Linked DNA regions of Homo sapiens: region 2 is linked to region 1. The links are contacts of gene promoters, found by promoter capture Hi-C in human tissues and cell types (Jung and others, 2019). All regions are on one chromosome and are shown on one strand. The core of a region is centred on a gene start or on the middle of the fragment in contact, and the rest is flanking DNA. Distances in the headings are between cores, read along the strand shown.

What was found. The method cuts DNA at HindIII sites, captures the fragments that hold promoters and counts their contacts. A contact is called where the count stands out against the background at its distance.
Region 2: a contact is called between a fragment that was not itself captured here and the fragment with the promoter of HORMAD2 in region 1, in 1 of the 25 tissues and cell types used here (pancreas).

The regions. Positions count from the first base shown.
Region 1 is chr22:30,078,114-30,083,719 of GRCh38, forward strand. HORMAD2 (HORMA domain containing 2) reads left to right here and starts at 2,351. Exons shown (of 11, transcript NM_152510.4): 1 at 2,351-2,378. It overlaps HORMAD2-AS1 (HORMAD2 and MTMR3 antisense RNA 1), which reads right to left and starts at 2,144. Exons shown (of 5, transcript NR_110541.2): 1 at 2,015-2,144. RefSeq lists silencers at 383-502, 1,952-2,001 and enhancers at 553-632, 1,807-2,504, 2,342-2,421. The HindIII fragment of the contact is 22,926 bases long and covers 1-5,606 here.
Region 2 is chr22:30,033,716-30,039,321 of GRCh38, forward strand. The region is part of intron 3 of HORMAD2-AS1 (HORMAD2 and MTMR3 antisense RNA 1); the gene reads right to left. Among named protein-coding and RNA genes, the nearest start is that of MIR6818, 29 kb to the left of the region's middle. The HindIII fragment of the contact is 4,617 bases long and covers 987-5,603 here.

The DNA of each region.
Region 1 (5,606 bases), core at 1,101-3,600:
AGTAAGAGAAACTCCACAGAAGCTCTTCGGAGGAAAACAGGGTAATTTATAATTTCAGTCCACCAATGTCTATTGAGTGCCTACTGTGTGTGCCAGCACTGGGCATCCTGGGGCGACTCCGCCAGATCAGGCCTCTGATGACACTTACTTACTTATTCCAGGTGATAGAGAGAAAAAAACAAAACAGGTTATCAAAGAAATGAAGTCCATGGCTGGGCTTGGGGGCTCAAGCCTGTAATCCTAGCACTTTGGGAGGCTGAGGTGGGTGGATTGCTTGAGGTCAGGAGTTCAAGACCAGCCTGGCCAACATGGTGAAACCCCATCTCTACTAAAAATACAAAAATCAGCCGGGCATGGTGATGCATGCCTGTAACCCCAGCTACTTAGGTGGCTGAGGCAGGAGAATCACTTGAGCCTGGGAGGTGGAGGTGGCAGCGAGCCAATATCACGCCACTGCACTCCAGCCTGGGTGACAGAGCAAGACTCTGTCTCACAAAAAAAAAAAAAAAAAAAAAAAAAAAAAATTAGATTGAGAGAAATTCTATGAAAGAAACAGAATAACGAATAACTGTGTTTGCTGGTGGGGTAGACTGCCAATAGTATAGGGCAGAGAGGGGTAAGTCTTTGGATATGGTAGCAGTTGACTGAGCTCAGATCTGAAGGCAGAAGAAAATTAGAACAGCCAGCACAGAGGGCCTAGTGATCCAGCCAGAGAGGCTGGTAAATGCGGAGGCTGAGAAGGGCTGGTGCAGACAAACCATCTGTGTGGTTGGAGCTTAAAAAGCAGTTACTTCCGGAAAGTATAGGGTGAACGCAGTAGTTCTCAACAGAGGGCAATTTTGCACACCCCATGGGACATTTGGCAAAGTCTAGAGAAATTTTTGGTTGTTATGATGGTGGGGGTGGGGAGAAGGTTGAGAAAACTTGCACTAAAAGAATATTTCAGCCCAAATTTCAGTTTTAGTCATTATGTTCTAAACTCATGTTCTCGCCAACTTGAATAGTTTTTTTTTTCTTTCCTGCAGAAACAAAATAAGAACAGGTTTCAAGTGGCTCACTCTTTCATCTACTCTCTTGGGAAATCCCCTTGGGGAGGTTCATGGGACTCCAGGAGCCTTTGGAAAGCACCACAGGATACGAAATATCTACCTAAACAGGTGAGAAACGATCCAAGGAGCCACACCCCCAACTGCTCCCACAGTTACCAGGGCAGAAAAAACTGAGATTAGGGGTAGGGCACAAAGGAGAATATATTTATGTTTTATTTGCATAATTACAAATTAATGTTAAAAAGAATGCAAAGTCAGGTCCAGGGTAGGGATGAAGAGGTTGCAGATGCCCTCAAGTATTGGAAAGCTCTGGCCTTCTGGCCTTATGTCTTTTTTCTTTCTTTTCTTTTTTTTTATTTTTGAGACAGGGTCTCCCTCTGTTGCCCAGGCTGGAGTGCAATGGTACGATCTTGGCTCACTGCAACCTCAAACTCCCCGGCTCAAGCGATCCTCCTACCTCAGCCTCCCGAGCAGCTGGGACTACAGGCGCACGTCAGGTGGCCCAGCTAATTTTTGTACTTTTTAAAATTTTTTTGAGACGGAGTCTCGCTCTGTCGCCCAGGCTGGAGTGCAATGGCGGAATCTCGGCTCACTGCAACCTCAGCCTCCTGGGCTCAAGCGATTCTCGTGCCTCAGCTTCCCAAGTAGCTGGGACTACAGGCGCGCGCCACCACGCCCAGCTAATTTTTGTATTTTTTGTAGAGACGGGTTTTCAACATGTTGGCCAGGCTGGTCTCGAATTCCTGACCTCAAGTGACGCGCCCGCCTCAGCCTCCCAGAGTGCTGGGATCCCAGGTGGAGCCACCGCGCCGCACTTCTCGGGCCTTCTTCTAACTCGGGTCCCTGGGCCCCCCAGGCTCTCGCTTCCCTCCCCTACGCCGCCCCGCGCCCGCCTCAGACCTCTCTGGGACCCGCCGGCCTGGCGTCCTGGCCCGCCCGAGCCCCACGGTCCCTCGGGTCCTAACCTCGGCGGGGCAGGCACCTCCTCAGGAAGCCCCGGAGCAGGCTGTCGTTGTATAGGTGGCCCAGGCTGGCGGCCCCTGACCGAAGGTCGCGTCGGGTCAGTGTGCAGCCCGTGGCTGAGAGGCGGCTGCTGAGGGGCCGGGCGGGCTAGGGGCCGGCTAGCCGCCGTTCGCCCCTGCTTTGCATATTCATGAAGTCTAGCGAGGCCGGTCGCCCAGGCTAGCCGTGGACGGGTCATGAATTATTCATGAGGAAACCTCTGGTCCCGCCCAGAAAGGCCTCGTTGACTATTCATGAGCCGAGGAGCGGGTTTGGGCCGGAAAAGGCCGTTGACCCCCGGTGGGAGGGAAGCGTCGACGAGCTGAGGTGAGGGCTGTTGAGACGCGAGGTCTCGGCCCAGAGAGGGCACTCGGGCGTTGTTAGTTCTGTCTTTATGTCAAAAAACAATTTTTTTTTCTTTTCTTATTACTTAAGGCTTTAAGTTGGATTTGAAAGTATCATATTTCGTGAGGGCCTAAAGTACTGTGAAGAGAATCGGGAGGGCAGGGGGCTGAGGAGGAAGGCAAAAGGGAGGCGATTTCCCCCAGAACTGGACAGAGAGCACCCAGGTAGTTTTGAAATTCAGATTTTTCTGGACATGAAATCAAACTTGCTGAGCAAGCAGCAGCCATAATGAGCCATGATGAGGCTGGCAGGGCAGACGATGTCTGTGCCCGACATTGGAGGGGGCCGTGTGTGGTGGAGCTTTGGGGAAGTTTATCTTACCTGGGTCAGATTCTCCCCAGCCATTGAGGTTTTCTGCCAGGATCGATGCCTGGTACAGGCCAAGAGGTGAGAGAGGTGGGGACAAGACACCCCGCCCCCCTTGACCTCAGCTCCCCTTTCACTTTAGTGAGGATTTGCCAATTAATCCCTATGGACTTTAGTTCCCTAAACAGAGGGAGAGAGTCTTGAACCTCAGGATTAGCCAATCGCCAAAATGTGTCCGAGTACGCAGGGCACTGGACAGGCTGTGCAGTACATCGTGTACTCAGCTGGTAGAAATGAGGGGTGGTTCTGGCCCCTAAAGGGGTTTTTAATCTCAGCAGGATCATAATCTAATTTCTCCTCCATTGGACCATCAATCTGTTGAGGTAGGAACAGTATTTTACATCTCGTAATCCTGCATGTTGTTGCCTGGCACATTGTAGTTGCCTCGTAGATGTTGAATGAATGAATAATTGAAATAGCATGAAAAAGATATTAAAAAGTCAAAAGAGCATGAACAAATACTCAATTAATATAGTGGAAGCCATTTTCTCTGAATGAGCACAGGTAGGGGAATTACCAGGGCCAAATGGAATTTGTTAAAATGGTGAATAATTTATTGAAGCAAGCTCTGTTGGAAGGTCTAAGTAATTGGGCGAACTTTGGCAAACCAAGTTCCCTTGCTTAGCCTCACTTTCCTTTTCTTTTTTCTTTTTTTTTTGTGAGATGGAGTCGAGCTCTGTGCCAGGCTGGAGTGCAGTGACGCAATCTCAGCTCACTGCAACCTCCACCTCTCGGGTTCAAGCGATTCCCCTGCCTCAGCCTCCCATGTAGCTGGGACTACAGGTGTGCACCACCACGCCCAGCTAAATTTTTTTATTTTTTTTTATTTTTAGTAGAGACAGGGTTTCACCATGTTGGCCAGGATAGTCTCGATCTCTTGACCTCGTGATCCTCCCACCTCGGCCTCCCAGAGTGCTGGGATTACAGGTGTGAGCCACTGCACCTGGCCCCTTTTCTTTATAGTTTTATGTTTAGGTTTAAATCCATGATCCATTTTGCATTAATATTTGTATACAGTGTGAGATTTAGGTTAAGTTTCTTTTAATTCTCTGTTCTTCCCCCCACCCTCCAGATGTCCTTTTGTTTCAGCATCATTTGCTGAAAAAAAGATTCTTCCTCCACAGAATTGGATCTTCTTTAAATCAAAGGGGTTGGAAGATGTCTGTGCTCCCTTCCAGCTTTAGGAATCTATTGAACCCATTTATGTTAACGTACACTTCTTTTGAGTAAAGCCATTCTTAACAACATGCATGTGTAAGGAAGGTAATATAGTTACATTTCAGAATCCAGCTATTGGATAGTGTTCACCTGATAGAAAAGGGATTTTCTTGTAAAAAACGGTTTTTGAAGATTGAGAAAGATGGGTAGAGAGCCTTCATAAATCAACTATGATTATATTTGGGAAAATGTAATAAAACTTTGGCTTTTGCTTCACTTGGAATGGTTAAAAAAGTGGTTTAGGCCTTAGTAAACTAAACAGCAGCTGGCTAATCTTTATGTGAATCTTGGACTCACACATAGTAGGGGTAAAATAGGAAGTAATTGTGCCACCATATAAAATAGGGCAATTGAAGGCGTGGTGTGGTGTCTCATATGTGTAATCCCAAAACTTTGAGAGGCCAAGAGTTCGAGGCCAGTCTGGGCAACATAGTGAGACCTCCCCCTCCACCCGCCCGCCCAACTCTACAAAAATAAAAAATTTTTAAAAATTAGCAGGGCATGGTGGTGCATGCATATAGTCTCAGCTACTTGGAAGGCTGAGATAGGAGGATCACTTGAGCCCAGAAGTTTGAGGTTGCAATGAGCTGTGATTATGCCAGCCTAGGTGACAGATCATGCCACCGCACTTTACTCTGTCTCAAAAAAAAAAAAAAGAAAAGAAAAGAAAAGAAAATGAATACACAACAACAAAAAAAATAGGGCAATTGAGATATAGGTCAAGAGGTAAGCCTAGAGTGAATCTTTACCAGAAAGAGCATAGAAATATTGCCTCTTTCTCAAGAAGATCATAATCCTTGTCACAAAGTAGACATATCAAATGTAAGAGTGAGGGTCAGTTGCAGTGGCTCACACTTATAATCCCAGCACTTTGGGAGGCTAAGAAAGGAGTATTGCTTGAGCCCAGAAGTTCAAAACCAGCCTGGGTAACATAGTGAGACCTCATCTCTACCAAAAATAAAATTTGCTGAGTGTGGTGGCACATGGCCTCTAGTACTAGCTACTTAGGAGGCTGAGGTGGGAGGATCACTTGAGCCCAGGAGGTCGAGGTTGCAGTGAGCCAAGATTGCGCCACTGCATTCCTGCCTGGGTAAACAGAGTAAGACCTTGTCTCAAAAACAGAAGAGGGAATGGTATTGATGAACTGTGAAGTTTCAAATATGTGTGGATCTAATTTGCAAACAAATATATAAGAGAATGACATTGCAAAGTTAGCTTTCAGTTCTTAAAATCCATAGTTATGAAATCTCTTCTAGGTTTTTAGATAATGAGCCTGAACAAAGGGATAACACATAGAAAAAATCAGACCTATTCTCTGAGAATGCATGCTCTCTAGAGTCATACCTCCTGTGAACTTGTGAGCTTTTAAAATTAAGCAGGGTTTGTACTTAAATAGAAGACCTCCACAAAACACCTGCTCAAAGGGAAAACAGTAGCAACAGAATAATTAGAGGCTGAAAGGAGTCTGGCTTTTTTTTTGAGACGGAGTTTCACTCTTGTTGCCCAGGCTGGAGTGCAATGGTGCAATCTCGGCTCACTGCAACCTCCACCTCCCGGGTTCAAGCA
Region 2 (5,606 bases), core at 2,045-4,544, 43 kb before region 1:
GAAATGGAAACCATGAGAATGGTGTGCCTCTCGACAGTTGCCACTGACCCCTGGAGAGGAGTCCTAGTTGGGTTGGGAGGAAGGGGGTTGGGCTTGAACTCTCCCTGCCCCCTTACTTTTGGAGCAGCAGCATCCCCCCGAGGAGCTGAGAGGTCACTCCCTGGGTCAAGCAGCCTGAGCTAGTCCCTCTCCACGGACAGGATGATTCACAGCCCAGAAAAGGGAGCAGCCACCTCTGGAAACCGTGTACATCCTAAGAGCCCCTCCTGCAGCACCTTTCTTAGGTTGATTCAGGGAGGGAAGCTGTGGGAGGAGTCGGGGAAAGGCCTGGGAGCAGTGCTTCCTCTCTCCCTGCTGCACCAACATCTTGGAAGCTTGGTGGAGGTGGGGACACAACTCTTACCAGTAGTGCTGCTCTTCCTCCTCTCCCACACCCCCACTTTCTCTTCCCCTTTCCAAATACCCAAAGGTTTTAATGTGATCTCCTGGCATTGGAGACCCTGGGCACCACTGCACATTCAGGCCAGTGAGCAGGTCAGGCCCATGTAGCCACCGGAGGTGGCAATGCCCGAGAGGCCATCCTGCAGGCACTAGCTGGAGATGCCAGTGCTGAGTGACTCCAAGGAGATTGTTTTCCTTCTGAAAAAGCAGCACATGGCTGGGCGCAGTGGCTCATGCCTGTAATCCCAGCACTTTGGGAGGCCGAGGCGGGTGGGTTGCCTCAGCTCAGGAGTTCGAAACCAGCCTGGGCAACACGGTGAAACTCCATCTCTACTAAAATACAAAAGCTGTAGCTAGGCATGGCAGCTGCTCAGGAGGCTGAGGCAGGAGAATTGCTTGAACCTGGGAGGCGGAGGTTGCAGTGAGCTGAGATTGTGCCACTACACTCCAGCCTGGGCGACAGAGCGAGACTCCATCTCAAAAAAAAAAAAAAAAAAGACACCATTCCTTTTGCTGAAGTGGGCACAGGCCAGGCCCCTAGGAACTGAGCGCTTGCAGTGCTGCAGGAAGTGCTCTCCTGGCACTCCCTTGTCCTGCCAAGAAGTGGGGACTGCAGGGGACTTTGAGCAACCCAGTACATGAACCTCTTCATTTACAGAAGCATTTTGGAGGCTTTTTTCACTACACAAAAGGTTCTACTATAGAATTTTCCAATTGTATTTTGCATTTTAAAATATACTGTTCATTAACATAAAAATATACACAATGCCGGGCACAGTGGCTCACGCCTGTAATCCCAGCACTTTGGGAGGCCAAGGGAGGCGGATCACTTGAGGTCAGGAATTTAAGACCAGCCTGGCCAACATGGCGAAACCCTATCTTTACAAAAACTTAGCCGGGCCTGGTGGCACGCGCCTATAGTTCCAGCTACTCGGGAGGCTGAGGCAGGAGAATCTTTTGAACCTGGGAGGCAGAGGTTGCAGTGAGCCAAGGTCGCGTTACTGCACTCCAGCCTGGTTGACGGAGCAAGACACCGTCTCCAGAAAAAAAAAAAGTGTACACAATTACAAGTGAAATTCCCACTTGCTAGAGGTAACTGACTCACCACCTTTAGTGAGTTGTCTTGGTTTTGTTTTTTAAAAATACTCTGCAACAAAGCTTTACTTGTTTTTGTTGTCTGTTACAGAGTAAACCGTGGTGTAGATTCTTCTGCCAGAAATTCTCACACTTTTGGAGTTAGAGAACAGAAATGGTTCAGTAAGTGACAAAATGACAGCCAGAATAGATGGTCTAGGGCTTTGTCCCACATCCACCATGGCCTTAGCCTTTTTCTTTCAACCTTGTTTGGCTGGCTCCTTCCTCTATCCCTAAAGCTGTCCAGTCCTCCAGCCTGCAAAGCAAATTCTTTCAAGTCAGAGCAAATTCTTTCAAGTCTCTGCCTCCAGCAAGTATCCTGTCTTGCTCCTTCCCTTCACTGTGAAACGAATAGAAAGAGTGGCCAGCTCTATATCGTCTTTGCTCCACCACCCCTTCCTCTTCCTCCTGCTTCTGCTGCCCCCCACCACCCCAACACTGGGTGTCCCCAAGGACTAGCCACACACTCTAGACCCACTCCAAAGCATTCTTTCTTGCAACCATTCTGCAACCTGCCACCTTGCTAACCCTCCTGCCAGTTCTTCTGCCTCTGTAGTTGGCCTGTGAGACTTTGCAGGCAGCCCTCTCACCTACTTCCTTGGCATTACTGCTCTGAGGCTCAGCTCTCTGCCCTCCTTCCACGCATGCTTCCTTGGACATGCAGAAATTAAAGTGCTGAAAATGGAGGCCTGTTATATACCACAGTTCTAAGTCTCTAGAGGCCTCCTTCAGGCACCTGGGGAGACTGCGAGAGCATCAGGTGTCCCCATCTGGACGTGTCTATGTGGCCATGCTTCACCTGCACCCCCACGCAGTTCGATGGCATTAACCTGGGGACTAGTTCTGGGCCTGAAAACTGAGCTCAGCCTTGTCAGCCAGAGATGCCTCGGGGCTTCCCCTGAACTGAGAGGCCACGACGTCTGCTCTTCGCTTTTATCCTCTGTTGCAGGATGCAGTCAGCACCTAGTGCAGGGGTGAACGCCGATGCCAAGTTTGCCCTCCTATCCTTCAACCCCAAGTAGGAAGTTCACCTCTTATTTTCATATTGTAATTGAATTCCGACACCCCACCAACCCTTCCTGGGACTGGGGGAAGCCCCATCGTCAGTCTATTTATGACACTCCGTCGTAGGAAGCTTTGACCCTGGTTGGACAGGAATGAGCTAGAGCACCCAAAGCCACTGGGCATGGTTTCTGTGTGCTGCCCTAGGCAAGGGCAGAGGGGCTCTGCCTCTCCTTACCTGGGCCTACCAGAACACCCTTGCCAGTCACATGTCTTCCGGGTCACCCTGCTGCCCTCCAAGGCACCTCATGCCCTCAGAGGGCCCTGCTGATGCCTGAAAAGCCCAGATCAAGCTGAGAACAAGGGCCTGGCTGTCTGTTCAGGAACCCTCTGCCCTGTTCTGCCTCGGTACTCTGTCACCCCTCATTGCTGAGGACCCTAACCAATGCATGCACAGAGAGTCTTGGCTTCTGACAGCTCTGGATATGCTCTGTGGCGCCTTCATGTAGTAAGTCATTGAAGGCTAAGTCTCTGTGCAGGCTTCACTGGTGACTCACACATGTCCCCACCCCTACCATTCCATGAGATGACATGGGACTTCTGTCTCAGGCACTGTTTGCTCTCAAGAATATGCTGCCTGTTAGGGAAGATGATCAGGCAGATAAATATATTCATACCCTCATCCAAAAAGAACAGGACCTGAAAAAGCCTCTTAGAGGCAACCCATTGAAAATGGAGACCAGTGTTTCATACAGCACATAGTGAAAAAGGTTTGATCCGAATTTAATCTTGTAAAATGAAACTATTATTGAAATAAGTATCTTTTTTGAATCGACAAAATTATATATAATATACAGTATGTTTTGAAATATGTATACATTGTGTAATGGTTTAAATCGATCTAATTAACATATGCGTTACCTCACATACTTATTTTTTTGTGATGAGAGACACTTAAAATCTACCCTCTTAGAGATTTTCAAGAATACAATGCATTGTTATTAACTAAGTCACCTTGTGGTGCAATAGAGCTCTTTAACCTAATCCTATTTAACTGAAATTTATCCTTTAACCAGTATCTCCCACTGTTTTGTTTAAAAGTATGTTTTAACAAAAGGTAATTGCAACTATAGGCTAATTCTTTGTTGTTGTTGTCGTTATTGAGAGAGGGTCAGTCTCGCTCTGTTGCCCAGGCTGGAGTGCAGTGGCACGATCTTGGCTCACTACAACCTCCGCCTCCTGGGTTCAAGAGATTCTCGTGCCTCAGCTTCCTGAGTAGCAGGGATTATAGGCATGCACCAGTACACCCAGCTAATTTTTGTAGTTTTAGTAGAGGTGGGGTTTTGCCATGTTGGCTTGGCTGGTCTCAAACTTCTGACCTTAAGTGATCCACCTGCCTTGACCTCCCAAAGTGCTGGGATTACAGGCGTGAGCCACCACTCCCGACCAGGCTAATTCTTAAAAATAATATTTTAGGTGTATTTCCCTCCCCAAATTATATGATTGCACAATAGGACATTATTTCATGTTTGATTTTCTAGTGTAATCAATCACAGGATCATTTTAGGAAAAGTTAGTCAAGGGCTTCCTCAATTTCCCTCTTAAATCCTTTAGTCTTTGATATTCACATCATCCCCCTAGGAAACACCTAATTGGTTAGACATGTCACCTTCCCCTTCATTTGTTAATGGACCTACTCTCTGCGATCCTTATTTCCAATGGCTACACTCATCTGAGCAGTTTGCCAACACATTCACCAACTATGTGAAATTCTGCATATTTTACAAAACTTAAATTGTACTTTGGTGCCTGTTTTGTTGTATTTTCAACATCTCACAATCCGTAACAGGGAAGTTGGGCTATGGTGGATGGAGAGTATGTTAAGGAGGAAGAGATGTTTAAGTGGAGAGTGATTTTTCTAAGTGGTTGAGTTGTGTAGAGAATACTCTTCATGTCTGATGACTTTAGCTTTCTCCACAACTAGTGGCTACAGGAACTTGGATACTGACTAGTTGGAGTTATAGCTCAGAGGAAGAAGAGAGTACATGTACATCTGAGCAGGGAGCCTGCCCCTTGGGGGATAGCAGTGACATCAACACATGGCAATATGATGACGTCAAGGTGAGCCAAGGCAAGTGGGCGGGTTTCAGGATCTGAGCCAGAGGGCATGGGTTAGCGAACAGGAAAGGCAGGAAATATTTGTTAAAAGCTTAGGCCAAAAAAGTCTCCTATGTCAGGCCAAACACTGGTCCCAATTCTATAGGTATTTGAGGTTTCTGAACAGAGAATGGAACAAGATGATAATAGTTAATATTTGTTATGGGCTAGGCACTGTCCAAATACTTTCCATGAGTAACACATTTAATTCTCCTATTAACCTGGTGAGGTACTGTGACAGCCTCATTTGAAACTAAGATGACTGAGCCAGTAGAGCTGTTAAGCCCCTTGCCCAAGGTCACCCAGAAAGTTGAAGCAGCTGAGCCATGGTTTGAATCTGGCCCCTCTGCCTCCTGAAATCACGCTCTCAACCGCTGCGCTACCCAGTCTCTCCTGGGCCCAGGATGAATGGAAGTGGGTGCTGGGAGGCGAGGCAAGATGAGGTGGAAAGAGCAGTAAGAGGCCACCTGCATGAAAAAGGCCTAAACCAGGGCAGAGAAGGGTTCAAGAGCAACTCCAAAGAACACTGAATGTTAAAGTACTAGTGCTGTTTCATTGGCTTTACACAGGACTGTTTCTTTCCAAAACTCAGTAAGTCATGCATGAAGCAATCACCAATGCAAGAATCAATCAGGGGCCGGGCGCGGTGGCTCATGCCTGTAATCCCAGCACTTTGGGAGGCCGAGGCAGGCAGATCATGAGGTCAGGAGATCGAGACCATCCTGGCTGACATGGTGAAACCCCGTCTCTACTAAAATACAAAACATTAGCCGGGCGTGGTGGCGGGCGCCTGTAGTCCCAGCTACTCGGAAGGCTGAGGCAGGAGAAAGGTGTGAACCCGTGGGGCGGAGCTTGCTGTGAGCCGAGATCGA